Linked DNA regions of Homo sapiens: regions 2 and 3 are each linked to region 1. The links are contacts of gene promoters, found by promoter capture Hi-C in human tissues and cell types (Jung and others, 2019). All regions are on one chromosome and are shown on one strand. Each heading gives the region's core, a stretch centred on a gene start or on the middle of the fragment in contact. The rest is flanking DNA. Distances are from core to core; before and after follow the strand shown. Region 1 holds the start of SLC46A1 (solute carrier family 46 member 1). Region 2 overlaps FOXN1 (forkhead box N1). Region 3 overlaps SLC13A2 (solute carrier family 13 member 2).

Region 1 (4,110 bases), core at 54-2,553:
GACTTCTCTGGGGCGGGAGCCACATAGAGCTGGACAATGGATCGGTGGTGACGGAACGTGAAGAGCCGGGTGGACTTTGGCTCCTTTAAGGTCTCACCAAAGCAGAAAGCTGCATAGAGAGTCATGGCTATCAGCAAGGCCAAGGCCAGCCAGAAGGGGTTGGCATAACCCTGGGCCCGGAGCCAGTGGCCCCCGAGGAGGCTTGCCAGCATCCCAGCCACCCCGATGCTGGCTTCCAGCAGGGCCATCCGGAAGGTGCGGCTGCGACTGGAGCTGACATCTGCCACGGACGCAAAGCTAGCAGCCAGAAGGCCACCGAAGTCGCCGAGGAGGGCACAAAGGATGCGACCCAGCACGAAGTAGCCGACGTGGAGCTGCAGCTGCACCACAAAAACGGACACTAGGGCCTGGAGCAGCAGGCCCAGCGAGGCCAGCACTAGCAGCGGGCGGCGGCCCACACTGTCGCTCCAAGCTCCCAGCAGGGTGGACGAGAAGAGCCCCACCAGGAAGCCGCCCACGTTCATGTAGAGGGTCCAGTGGGAGGTAAGGGTCTCCACTTCCTGTAGGGGCACAATGACCAGGGTGCGGTTCCTCACTCTGGGTTCCACAATCCCCAAATCCTCGCCATCCCGGGAGCTACAGGGATGAGGACTTCCTTTGGAGCCCTAAACCTCAGAGAATCTTAGCACAGCTTTCAAAATCTGCCAGTGGAGAGGGGGAAGGACATGGACCAAGGCCCCATTCCCTTTCCTTTCCCCCCCCTTTTGTTAACCTGCAAGGCCAGACTTTAGCTCAGCTTTTCGCATCCCACCCGCTGAGGTTCTCGGTCAGGCCCCTTTGCTCTGGTCCCGCCCACCATCCAAAATGCACCCTCCCTCCAGTTACCCGCCACTACCATTACGCAGGCCCCGCCCCTCCGCTGCCCCCACGCTCCAGACCAGGGCCCTCCACCTGCCAGGCTCCTCGCCGCCCCGCTACCTGCATGGTGGGGTCCGCGCTGCGGTTGCTGCAGCCCCCCCTTTGGCGGGTGCCATTGTAGCCGAGGTCGGCGCTGAAGCGGTGCCACAGATACTGCGTGGTGAGCGGGCCCTGCAGGACCAAGGCAAAGTTGGCCAGGAAGACCAGCGGCTCTACCGGGCCCCGGCACAGCACGGCAGCCGCAGGGCGGGCGCGGGGCTTTTCCGGGGGGCTCGCGCTCCCCTCCATGTGCGTGCGCGGCGGAGCTGTCGCCAGGCGGGCGGCGGGGCGCGCGAGCGACTCGCTGCCTGGGACCAGCGACGCGTGGCGTGGGGCTTGCGCTGTCTGCGCCTGCGCCCGGCGTCCCTCCTTAAATGTCCGGCGGGGAGGGGCCTGTGACCTGAGGCCACCGGACTCTCGCCGCGGGTGCACCTGGCTGGGCGTGGGCCAGCGAGGGGCCCGGCACCCCCAGCCCGCGGGATGACCTCACCTGTAAAGTGTGCGTAGACACCGCCCTGCAGCCCTCCCTCCCGGCCCAGACACACCACAGATAACAAGAATATCAACAATTAACATGTATTGACCACTTACTATGTGCTGGGCACGGTATTAAACCCTTTTTGTGCGTTGGTCTCCCGATAACTCTACAGGCTAGCCAATATTAACCATCGCTATCTACCGCTGAGGAAACGAGGTCATCGGGTACTCAAGGCAGAGCTGGAAGAGCACATGACTCCTGATGCTGCTGATGTTCTGCGCTGTAACAGAGAGGCAGCTGGAGAGGATCGGAGTGGGCTGAGCCCAGCTGCCTGGGTTGGAGCACCTAGGCTCTGCCACTACCTTCGGCATGCCACTTACCACCCTGAGCCTCTGTTTTTTCATCTGTAAAATGGAGTTGCTAACAAAACATGTCTCAAAAAGTTGTGGAAAAGCAGTGTCTGGTATATTCAAAGTGCTATTATTGCTATTAACAGGCTGTCACGTCTGGGAGTGGTGGCTCACACCTGTAATCCCAGCACTTTTGGAGGCTGAGGCGCATGGATCGCTTGAACCCAGGAGTTCGAGACCAATCTGGGCAACATGGTAAAACCCTGTCTCTACAAAAAATACACAAAAATTAGCCAGGCGTAGTAGCAGATACCTGTAGTCCCAGGTACTCGGGTGGCTGAGGTGGGAGGATCAATTGAGCCCAGGAGGCAGAGGTTGCAGTGGGCTGAGATCGCACCACTGCACTCCAGCCTGGGTGACAGAGCAAGACCCTGTCTCAAAAAATATAAAATAAAAATAAAATAAAAAACAAGCTGTCACTTGCTCCACTCCTGCCCTAGGATCTTTTCCTGGGAAACTAGTCTTGTTTCTGGGGTCAGGCAGGGCCTGGCTCTGCAGTTCCCTTAGAGAAGATGGGGGAGGGCCTGGGAGGTCCTTGGGTGTGAACCTATGCTCCTGGGTGGCTCCCATTATAGGAATTAGGCCAGAAGGCAGTCACCTGCTCTGCTGCTGAGGAGGTCAGACCCTGTCTGGGCCTCTGTTTTATTGCCTGTAAAAAGGAACAGCATTACCTTCCTTACTCCCCTATCTTTCATTCATTCAGCTCATTTACTGAGTGCCCCTTACGTGCCAGGCACTGTGCTGGGGGACTCCGGGACCACAACAGGAAAGGAAATAGACAAAGCCCTCACCAGGCCCGTTAGTTTCTAGAATGGTGGGAGAGGAAAAATAGTCAAAGAATCCTACTAATTGATACAAAATTCCAACCGTGGAAAATAGTTTTGAACTCCAAGGGTGCTAATTCAGGGGCTGGAGGTAGGGGGAGCAGAATCAGGAAAGGCCACCTTCCCTGAGAACAGAGCAGCTGAGTGGGTTTCTGGAGGCAGGTCCTGACAGGCCTGATTCTTGGGAGGATGGATGGCTCCAATTCTGGCCACTGTGACTGTGCCTGGGCCTGTTGGAGCTTGTTAGCTACCCCACCTCCCCTGAGCCAGGAGTCCGAGACTCAGGATGGGTAGGTGCTGGCTAGATACTAGTGAACTGAATAACCTCCCCCTGCAAGCTGCCCCCACCTGTGGTCCCCTAGAGAGAGGAAATTCCACATTAAACATTCAAGCCTCTGGATTGGCTCCACTCTCCTCCCTCCCCTTCCAACTCCTCCCTACCACTTACACAAAAGCTTGGCCCAGTTAGGTCAGCTGCAGTGAGGGAGGGGTACTTGGCTAAATCCTTGGAATTATTTCTTAGATAAAGAACTAAGGCTAGGAGAGGCCAAGGTCCCTCATCAGGAATGGGACAGGGTGTGGCTCATCCCAGAGCCAGAGCCTGCAGTACCCACTAGGGTAGAGGTCTTTTCTAACTCCTTGAAAACAGCTGCAATCAGGTCACTGGCCTGCTCAAAACCATCCTGGGCTTTCCATTTCGCTCAGTGAGAGCCAAGTCCTTATGAGAGCCCTAAGGCCACCTACCTCTTCTCTGTCCCTCTCCCCTGCTTTGTCCCCCTCAATCCTTGTGCTCAAGCCATGCTGGCCTCCTGCTTTAGGGCCTTTACACTTGCGGTAACTACTACCTAGAATGCTCTTCTGGATATCTGCCTGGCCGGCTCCCTCACTTCCTTCAAGTCTCCACTAAAATGTCACCTGACCCTCCTATATAAGCAACTTCCCTCCTTCCTTGCTTCCTGGCACTCCCTAATCCTTTACCCTGTTTCATTTTTTTCCATAGTGTTTATCACCATCTGAATTATAACTTTCTGGTTTCTTTGTTGTCCATCTCCCTTTACTAGAGGTCATGATGGCAGGGACTTTGTTTTTTCATCACTACCATATCCCCAGCATCTAGAATAGTGCCTGGCGTGTGGTAGATGCTCAAAAGACGATCGCTGAATGAACTCTCAGTCTCAAGGAGAGGAGATTCCGCAGCTGGAGTCCCAGAGCATGTGGAGAGGGTTGCCAATGTTGAGCTGCACTGTGGAGTCCAGAGCCCAAGAATCTCCACCTAGAAGGAAGCTGAGAAATCACATCTCCACCCATCCAACCATTTAAAAGACAGGGAAACTGAGGTCCAGAGGGAAAGGTGACTTACCCAGAGAGAGCTAAAAAGTCCTGCCTGTCAAATTTCTACAGGAAAGGAGAAGCTATTGCAAAGGAAAAGATCTGTAGACTT
Region 2 (4,110 bases), core at 1,007-3,506, 110 kb after region 1:
ATCCCACTAAATATTCATCCTTTACACTACAGATACTCACAGAAATAAAAATACTTAAAATAAAAAAATAAAACATTCATCTATCTGTCTGTTGATTTGTCCATCTGTCCAGCTTTCCATCCATCAATCTCTCCATCCGATGATCTGTCCATTCATCCAACTGTTCATCTTTACATACATAAATACATCTATCTATCCACCCATCCATCCAGAGAGGTCAGGCTCTAGTTGGCCTCCCCAGGGCTGCTAGGAAGGGCCTGTGGTCCTGTGGCATTTATGGGGCATGTGACCTGCCTGCCTGGCCTGGGGAGACAGCCCCGCCTCAGCCCTCGGGCAGGGGGCCGGTCCAGGCATGTGGGAGTATTTATACCTCGATGGAGGCTCCTGGGGAGCTGCAGGCTGAATGACTCCCCGAAGCGGTGATGGTGGCCATGACCCAGAGCCCACTGTGAGTGCTTGGATTTGGCTCCTTTGGGGCCATGGCTGGGTGGCAGAGGTTAGAGAGGGGCTGGAGAGACGGGAAGGTGCCCAGAGGCAGCCAGGGATGGCGAAAAGGAAGGGGTGCTGGGCAAAGGAGAGTGGGAGACTGGTTGCTGTTGGAGTCAGGCATCTGAAGCAAAGCTGGGACCCTCCCTGCAGAAGGGATGAGTCTATTGCCCTTAAAGAGGCTCTGGTGGGTGGCTTGGTGAATGGCAGGAAGGACAGGACAAGAGGACTAAGATTACAATAAATAGGGATTAGAGATCTGGAAGAACCTCCAGGTCGGCCCAAGGCTCAAGTGCTTTTCCAGGATGGGCGTACTAGGCAATGCTCTGGGACCAGCCTGCTTCCAGAGGCACATGGGAATGCTGAAGAGTCTTTAGGAGAAGCCTGATTTGGGGACTGGAATGACTCAGCTGCAGGTGTCGGTGGCTCACATGGAGGAAAGCGTCACCTGGGGGACATGGTGGCTTTTCATCCTTTGTTCTCCCCACTCCCCTCCCTGCCCATTCTGTCCCTACCTGCTCTGTACTTGAGTCAGATCTCAAGGCAGGGGCACGCAACCCATTTTCCGAAACTGATGCTGGGTTAAGAGCCAGGGAGGCCAGAATTTTGCCCTCAGAACTTCCAACATTGATGGGGAGAAAGGAGCTAGAAACCCCCTCTTTCTTGGCATTCCCAGACCCCGAGTTTCCTTGGGTGCCCAAGCCTCAGGCAGAGCCCCCAGGTCCTTCCCTGCCACCCCCATAATTGCCGAGCTGCTCCAGGGGACCCCTCCCAGCAGCCTGTCGGGTGGAGCCCTGGGTGGGGCTACAGGCCAGCACCCGGCCGGCCGAGCCCCACCCCTCGTAAAACATGCTGCCGCAGCCAGCAACAGAAACCATTAAGGTGGAACTGAGCCGTCCCCACCTCACTCATAAAGAGTGGGTAGGAGGCCGCCAGGTGGGAGGCAGCAGGGAGCGTGAAGAGAGCCTGGGGAGGACCCTTGGTGCCCCAGGCCTGTCTGTCCCTGTGATTCAGTTGCCCACAGGGGAGGCAGGGACAGACCCTCCCAAGGAAACCTCCAACGTCGCCCCCACCCACCTTTCAGGCTTGAGCAGGGAGGCTGAGGCGTTACCAAGGTGGGGCCGTGTAGCGTAATGGTTCAGCATGCTGGCTTTGAAGCCCGGGTTGGAATCCTGGGGAGCATAATATACTAGCTGAGTGAACTTGGGCAAGTCAGGTTAACTTCTCTGAGTCTCAGTTTCCTCATCTATAAAATGGGATGATAATACAGCTCCTCCTTCCTGGGGTGTAAAAACTCAGCCAAGTCTTCCTGATCTCCTTGAGGATGTCCTCAGGGGCGCCCCACATAAAGGCAGAGGAGGGGTGAGGTCCCTGCTGACAGCTCTGTGGGCCAGATACACCTTTACAGGGTACATATCTCCACAGGGTACACACCTCTATGAGGTACACACCTCCACAGGGTACACACTTCCACAGGGTACATACCTCCAAAGAGTACAGAGTACATACCTCCACAGGGTACACACCTCCACAGAGTACACCCCTTCATAGGTGTACACATCTCCACAGGGTACACCCTCCACAGGTGTGCACATTTCCAAAGGTGTATACACTTCCACAGGTGAACATACCTCCACAGGTGAACACACTTCCACAGGGTACATACTTCCATAGGTGAACATACTTCCACAAGTGTACACCCCTTCACAGAGGTACACCCCTCCATGTGGTACATGCTTCTACAGGGTACACACTTCCACAGATGAACATACCTCCACAGGCTACACATCTCCACAGGTGTACACCCCTCCAAAAGTATAGACTTCCACAGGTGTACACACCTCCACAGGGTATACAGTTCCATTGGTGAATATACCTCCACAGGTGTACACTCCTCAACAGGTATACACCCCTCCACAAGTATACACACTTTCACAGGAGTACACCCCTCCACAGTGTACATACCTCCAAAGGTGAACACCATTCCCCAGGTGTATACACCTCCACAGATATACATACCTTCACAGGCGTACACACCTCCACAGGGTACACACTTCCACAGGTGAACATATCTCTACAGTGTCCATACCTTCACAGGGTACACATTTCCACAGGTATACCCTCCTCAACAGGTGTACACCCCTCCACAAGTATACACATTTCCACAGGGGTACACACCTCCAGAGGATCCATACTTCCACAGGGTATACAACTCCACAGGATCCATAACTCCACAGGATACACACCTCCACAGGATCCATACCTCCACAGGGTACACATCTCCACAGGGTACACACCTCCACAGGATCCTTACATCCACAGGGTACACATCTCCACAGGATCCATACCTCCACAGGGTACACACCTCCACAGGGTACACACCTCCACAGGATCCATAGCTCCAAAGGGTACACATCTCCAGAGGATACACATCTCCACAGAATCCATACCTCCACAGGGTACACACCTCTACAGGGTACACACTGCCACAGGATCCACACCTCCACAAGGTACACACCTCCACAGGTTACACACCTCCACAGGATCCATACCTCCATAGGGTACACACCTCCACAGGATCCATACCATCACGGGGTACATGCCTCCACAGAGTACATACCTCCACAGGATCCACACCTCCACAGGGTACACACTTCCACAGAGTACACACCTCCACAGGATCCATACCGCCACAGAGTACACACCTCCACAGGGTACACACCTCCGCAGGATACACACCTCCACAGGGTACACACCTCCACAGGATCCATACCTCCATAGGGTACACACCTCCGCAGGATCCATACCTCCACAGGGTACACACCTCCACTGGGTACACACCTCCACAGGATCCATACCATCACGGGGTACACGCCTCCACAGAATACATACCTCCACAGGATCCACACCTCCACAGGGTACACACTTCCACAGGGTACACACCTCCACAGGATCCATACCTCAAAAGGGTACACATCTCCACAGGGTACACACCTCCACAGGATACACACCTCCACAGGGTACACACCTCCACAGGGTACACAACTCCACTGGGTACACACCTCCACAGGATCCATACCTCCACAAGGACACACCTCCACAGGGTACACACCTCCACAGGATCCATACCTCCATAGGGTACACACCTCCGCAGGATCCATACCTCCACAGGGTACACACCTCCACAGGATCCATACCATCACAGGGTACACGCCTCCACAGAGTACATACCTCCACAGGATCCACACCTCCACAGGGTACACACTTCCACAGGGTACACACCTCCACAGGATCCATACCTCAAAAGGGTACACATCTCCACAGGGTACACACCTCCACAGGATCCACACCTCCACAGGGTACACACCTCCACAGGATACACACCTCCACAGGGTACACACCTCCACTGGGTACACACCTCCACAGGATCCATACCTCCACAGGGACACACCTCCACAGGGTACACACCTCCACAGGGTACATGCCTCCACAAGATACACACCTCCACAGGGACACACCTCCACAGGGTACAGGGTACACACCTCCACAGGGCAGACACCTCCACAGGATCCATAGTTCCATAGGGTACACACCTCCACAGGATCCATACCTCCACAGGGTACA
Region 3 (4,110 bases), core at 916-3,415, 86 kb after region 1:
TGATATTAAATGATAGATAATCCAGGCCGGGTGTGGTGGCTCATGCCTGTAATCCTAGCACTTTAGGGGGCCAAGGCGGGTGGATCACTTGAGCTCAGGAGTTCGAGACCAGCCTGGCCAGCGAGGTGAAACCTCATCTCTACAAAAAATACAAAAATTAGCCAGGCATGGTGGTGCGTGCCTGTAGTCCCAGCTACTTGGGAGGCTGAGGTGGGAGGATGGTTTGAGCCAAGGAGGTGGAGGTTGCAGTGAGCTGTGATTGTGCCACTGCATTCCAGCCTGGGCAACAGAGCCAGACCCTGTCTCCAAAAAGTTAAATTTATTTTTTTTAAATGGCAGATCATTCAGAGACCATTTCCATCCAGTTTCGAGAGCCCAGGGGAATGCCAGTCTGTGGGAATGTCAGTGACTGCATCCCATAACCTCGGGGGCACCGTGGGAGACTCCAGGGTCTTCCCGCCGCTCAGCCATGTCTCCACCTGCCAGGTTGCCGTCGAGTATCTTAAGGACTCCAACCTCCTGTTCTTCGGGGGGCTGCTGGTGGCCATCGCGGTGGAACACTGGAACCTGCATAAACGCATCGCCCTCCGTGTCCTCCTCATCGTTGGGGTGCGGCCTGCCCCGTGAGTTCCTCCTGCAAACCAGCACGGGAGAACCTGACGAGGAGATATTCTGGGCACCCAGTCCCTGAAGGGAAGCTGGAACAGCAGTGTGTCTGTCTGCCCATCCCTAGGCTAATCCTGGGCTTCATGCTGGTCACGGCCTTCCTGTCCATGTGGATCAGCAACACGGCCACCTCAGCCATGATGGTGCCCATCGCACATGCCGTCCTGGACCAGCTGCACAGCTCGCAAGCCAGCAGCAACGTCGAGGAGGGCAGCAACAACCCCACCTTCGAGCTCCAGGAACCAAGTCCCCAGAAGGAGGTGACCAAGCTTGGTGAGAAAAATGAGGCTAGACTCTGCCCCAACCCCTTGGTTCTTGGAGAGAGTCTGAGGGTCTGTCCGTTTCGAGGGCTGGTCATCTTGGAGCCTTTGGGGAGAGAAGAAAGAGATGCAAGAAGGACAGTGACCAATTTGTTTTTCCTTTTTTAAAAAATGTCAAGTACCCTGTTTTGGGAATCCCCTCATCCCTGGGCAAACCAAGATGCTTGGTCACCATAGCAAGAAGAGAGCTGGAGTCTAGGTGAACAGTCCAAGGTCTAGGCTCCATTCTTCCTGAGTGGTTTGGGTAATCCTCGTTTCCCTCTCTCAAGAGAGAGGTCAGATCATAGAGTGTCCAAGGGTGCTCCCAGCCTGAGACTCTGGGGAATGCTGGGCCCCTCAGGCCTGGAGACATCCTCTGTCCTCCTTCCAGCCCCGGTCTGGGCTGTTCACAGACAAGGTACCCTGGAGGGCCTTGCAGCCCTGGCCCCGTTCCCCAGAGCTGGCCCTGTACCTGCCCCCACCTGGGCTCTCCCTTGTTCCCAGATAATGGGCAGGCCCTCCCTGTCACGTCTGCCTCTTCGGAGGGGAGGGCACATCTCAGCCAGAAGCATCTCCACCTCACCCAGTGCATGAGCCTGTGCGTGTGCTACTCCGCCAGCATCGGGGGCATCGCCACGCTGACTGGCACCGCACCCAACCTGGTGCTGCAAGGCCAGATCAACTCGTGAGTGACAAGGGGTGGGCCACCTTGGGGGATCTGCACATTCACTGGGAGGTGAATGGGGCTGGGCAGTTCTCGGGGCAATGTCACACGGCAGCCCATGTTCCTCCTTCAGGCTCTTCCCCCAAAACGGCAACGTGGTGAACTTCGCCTCCTGGTTCAGCTTCGCCTTCCCCACCATGGTCATCTTGCTGCTGCTGGCCTGGTTGTGGCTGCAGATCCTCTTCCTGGGCTTCAAGTAAGTGGCAAAGTTGGTGAGAGAAGCCCAGGTCCCTGCCCTTAGCCCTGGGAGCTTCCAGTTGGGTGCAGATGTGGAAAATGATATTATCACCATCCCAATGAGAAGGCTTCTCCCTCCCAAAGCCCCTCTGTGCACTTGGACCCCCATTTGAGGAAATTACTGGGTAGAGAGTATTATCCCATTTCACAGATGCGCAAATTGAGGCTTCAGGAGTGGTTCGCAACTAGATTTGTCAGTGCTGGGGCTGCAAACCAGGTCACTTGATGCCCCTTCCCATAATGGTCCACCGTCCTTTGATAGGTGCTTAAGGGGCACACACTGAGCATGGTTAGTTACAGAAGCACCTGCTGTGTTCCTACTGTATACTGGGTTGTGTGTAAGGCACTGAGAATACTAGAAGGCACTGGGCACAGTCCCTGTCCTTGTAGCCCATCAGGTGGATGATGATATGGTGGGGTCACGACAGAGGGAAGCCCAGATGCTGCAAGAGCACAGAGAACACAGTGTCTAGTTCAGCCCAGGTGAGTGAAGATTCCAGAACACCATGGAGGAGATCATGCCTGGGCTGAATCTTGCAGGACTAGAAGTCAGCCAGGTAGAGAATGGGTGAAGAAATTCCAGGCAGCAGGAGCAGATTGCACAAAGCACAGAGGCAAGACAAGACGTGTTCGAGGGAACTCTAGTTCTGCAGGACTAAAACACAAACAGCAAAAAGGAGCATCAGGTCATGAAGCTGGAGAAGTAGGCAGGGGAAGGTTCTGGAAGCTCTTGTGTGCCACCTAATGAAGCCAAGAGTAATAAATAGATTTCATTCCTACTTCCACCAGGTTCCTGGTAGTCACTGTTTGGAGCTCTGAGTTGGAAAATCATAGGAGACCCTGCTAAGGCTCAGTTAGTATCAAGTCTGTGATTGATTAGTGATGTCTGCCATGAATACGGGATAAGAGTGGTGGTATGAGTGTTACTGTGGTATTAATTATAATTTGCCCTTCCTGCCCAGGCAGTGGAGAGCCCTTGAAAGTTTTTAAGCATTGCTGCTGCACTTTGGAAAAATCACTTGGGCAAATGTAAGGAAGCTGGATTAAGGTTGGGAGCTGGTACAAGGCAAGGTGGTAGTAGAAGAGGTCAGCACAGTGCCAGGCACCACAGGGGAGTCAAAGATGTGTGAAGTGTGGTCTTTGCCCTTGAGGAACTCACAGTCCAGCAGGGAGGTTGAGATTTACCCAAGTGGAAAGTTAAATGTCAACACAAGTTAAGTCAGCAGCAGAAGGAAGTGGGCTGCAGCCTACTGTGCCTCTGAGGACAATGCAGGTGGGGCTCAGGCTGGCAGGGGATAAGCAGAGAAGGCAGAGGAGGGAAGGGAGGACTTCCCGAAGGCTGTTGGAGGAGAAGAGCTGTGAGCCAGGGCAGGAAGAAGTCCCAGGGTCTGAGCTGCTAGGTCCTCCTCACCCTGGGCAAGGGAGGGTTCAGCACCATAGAACCCCTGGAGGAAAAGGGGCTCAATGGGGCAGGGCCAAGCATGGAGAATAAGCAAGAACTATGGCCTCTAAAAGTCTTCTGCTCCTCCTCCAGAACCTCAGGCGGAGCTGGGGCCTGAGTGTAGTGACCCTGAGATGCCCTCTGTGGGCCTCAGCCTTTAGATGGTAGGCACTCAGAGCCCCTTGCTCCCTGCTGGAGCAGGCCCCCCACGAGCTGCCCCGTCCCTCTGCCTGCAGCTTCCGGAAGAACTTTGGCATTGGGGAAAAGATGCAGGAGCAACAGCAGGCAGCCTACTGCGTCATCCAGACCGAGCACAGGCTGCTGGGCCCCATGACCTTTGCAGAAAAGGCCATCAGCATCCTATTCGTCATCCTGGTGCTGCTCTGGTTCACCCGGGAGCCGGGCTTTTTTCTTGGCTGGGGCAATTTGGCTTTTCCCAATGCCAAGGGGGAGAGGTGAGAGTTGCAGGGGTTGGGAGGAGGACACATCTGGGGCTCACATGCTCGGGAAGGAGGGAAGGGTATAGGGCCCCCATTGCAGAACAGGAGGTAACACTTGGTGGGGGATGAAGGTTCCCCAGGCTTGTCTATGGGAGAGGCTCATCTCCACCACCCTCCACCCTGTGGCCCTGAGCAACCCCAAGCGGCTAACCCAGCCCTCCCCGCGCCCCCTCCACCAACAGCATGGTGTCCGATGGGACAGTGGCCATCTTCATCGGCATAATTATGTTCATCATACCCTCC

What was found. The method cuts DNA at HindIII sites, captures the fragments that hold promoters and counts their contacts. A contact is called where the count stands out against the background at its distance.
Region 2: a contact is called between a fragment that was not itself captured here and the fragment with the promoter of SLC46A1 in region 1, in 2 of the 25 tissues and cell types used here (mesenchymal stem cells and small bowel).
Region 3: a fragment that was not itself captured here is called in contact with the fragment with the promoter of SLC46A1 in region 1 in 2 of the 25 tissues and cell types used here (lymphoblastoid cells and pancreas).

What each region holds. Positions count from the first base shown.
Region 1 is chr17:28,404,909-28,409,018 of GRCh38, forward strand. SLC46A1 (solute carrier family 46 member 1) reads right to left here and starts at 1,304. Exons shown (of 5, transcript NM_080669.6): 1 at 979-1,304; 2 at 1-560. The coding sequence starts at 1,206. RefSeq lists enhancers at 1-318, 3,459-4,110 and silencers at 786-945, 1,146-1,485. The HindIII fragment of the contact is 14,811 bases long and covers 1-4,110 here.
Region 2 is chr17:28,513,333-28,517,442 of GRCh38, forward strand. All of the region lies in intron 1 of FOXN1 (forkhead box N1), which reads left to right. Among named protein-coding and RNA genes, the nearest start is that of FOXN1, 9.0 kb to the left of the region's middle. The HindIII fragment of the contact is 8,963 bases long and covers 1-4,110 here.
Region 3 is chr17:28,489,968-28,494,077 of GRCh38, forward strand. It overlaps SLC13A2 (solute carrier family 13 member 2), which reads left to right. Exons shown (of 12, transcript NM_003984.4): 3 at 487-623; 4 at 734-939; 5 at 1,470-1,650; 6 at 1,763-1,885; 7 at 3,604-3,822; 8 at 4,050-4,110. Among named protein-coding and RNA genes, the nearest start is that of FOXN1, 14 kb to the right of the region's middle. RefSeq lists an enhancer at 3,182-3,251. The HindIII fragment of the contact is 5,155 bases long and covers 1-4,110 here.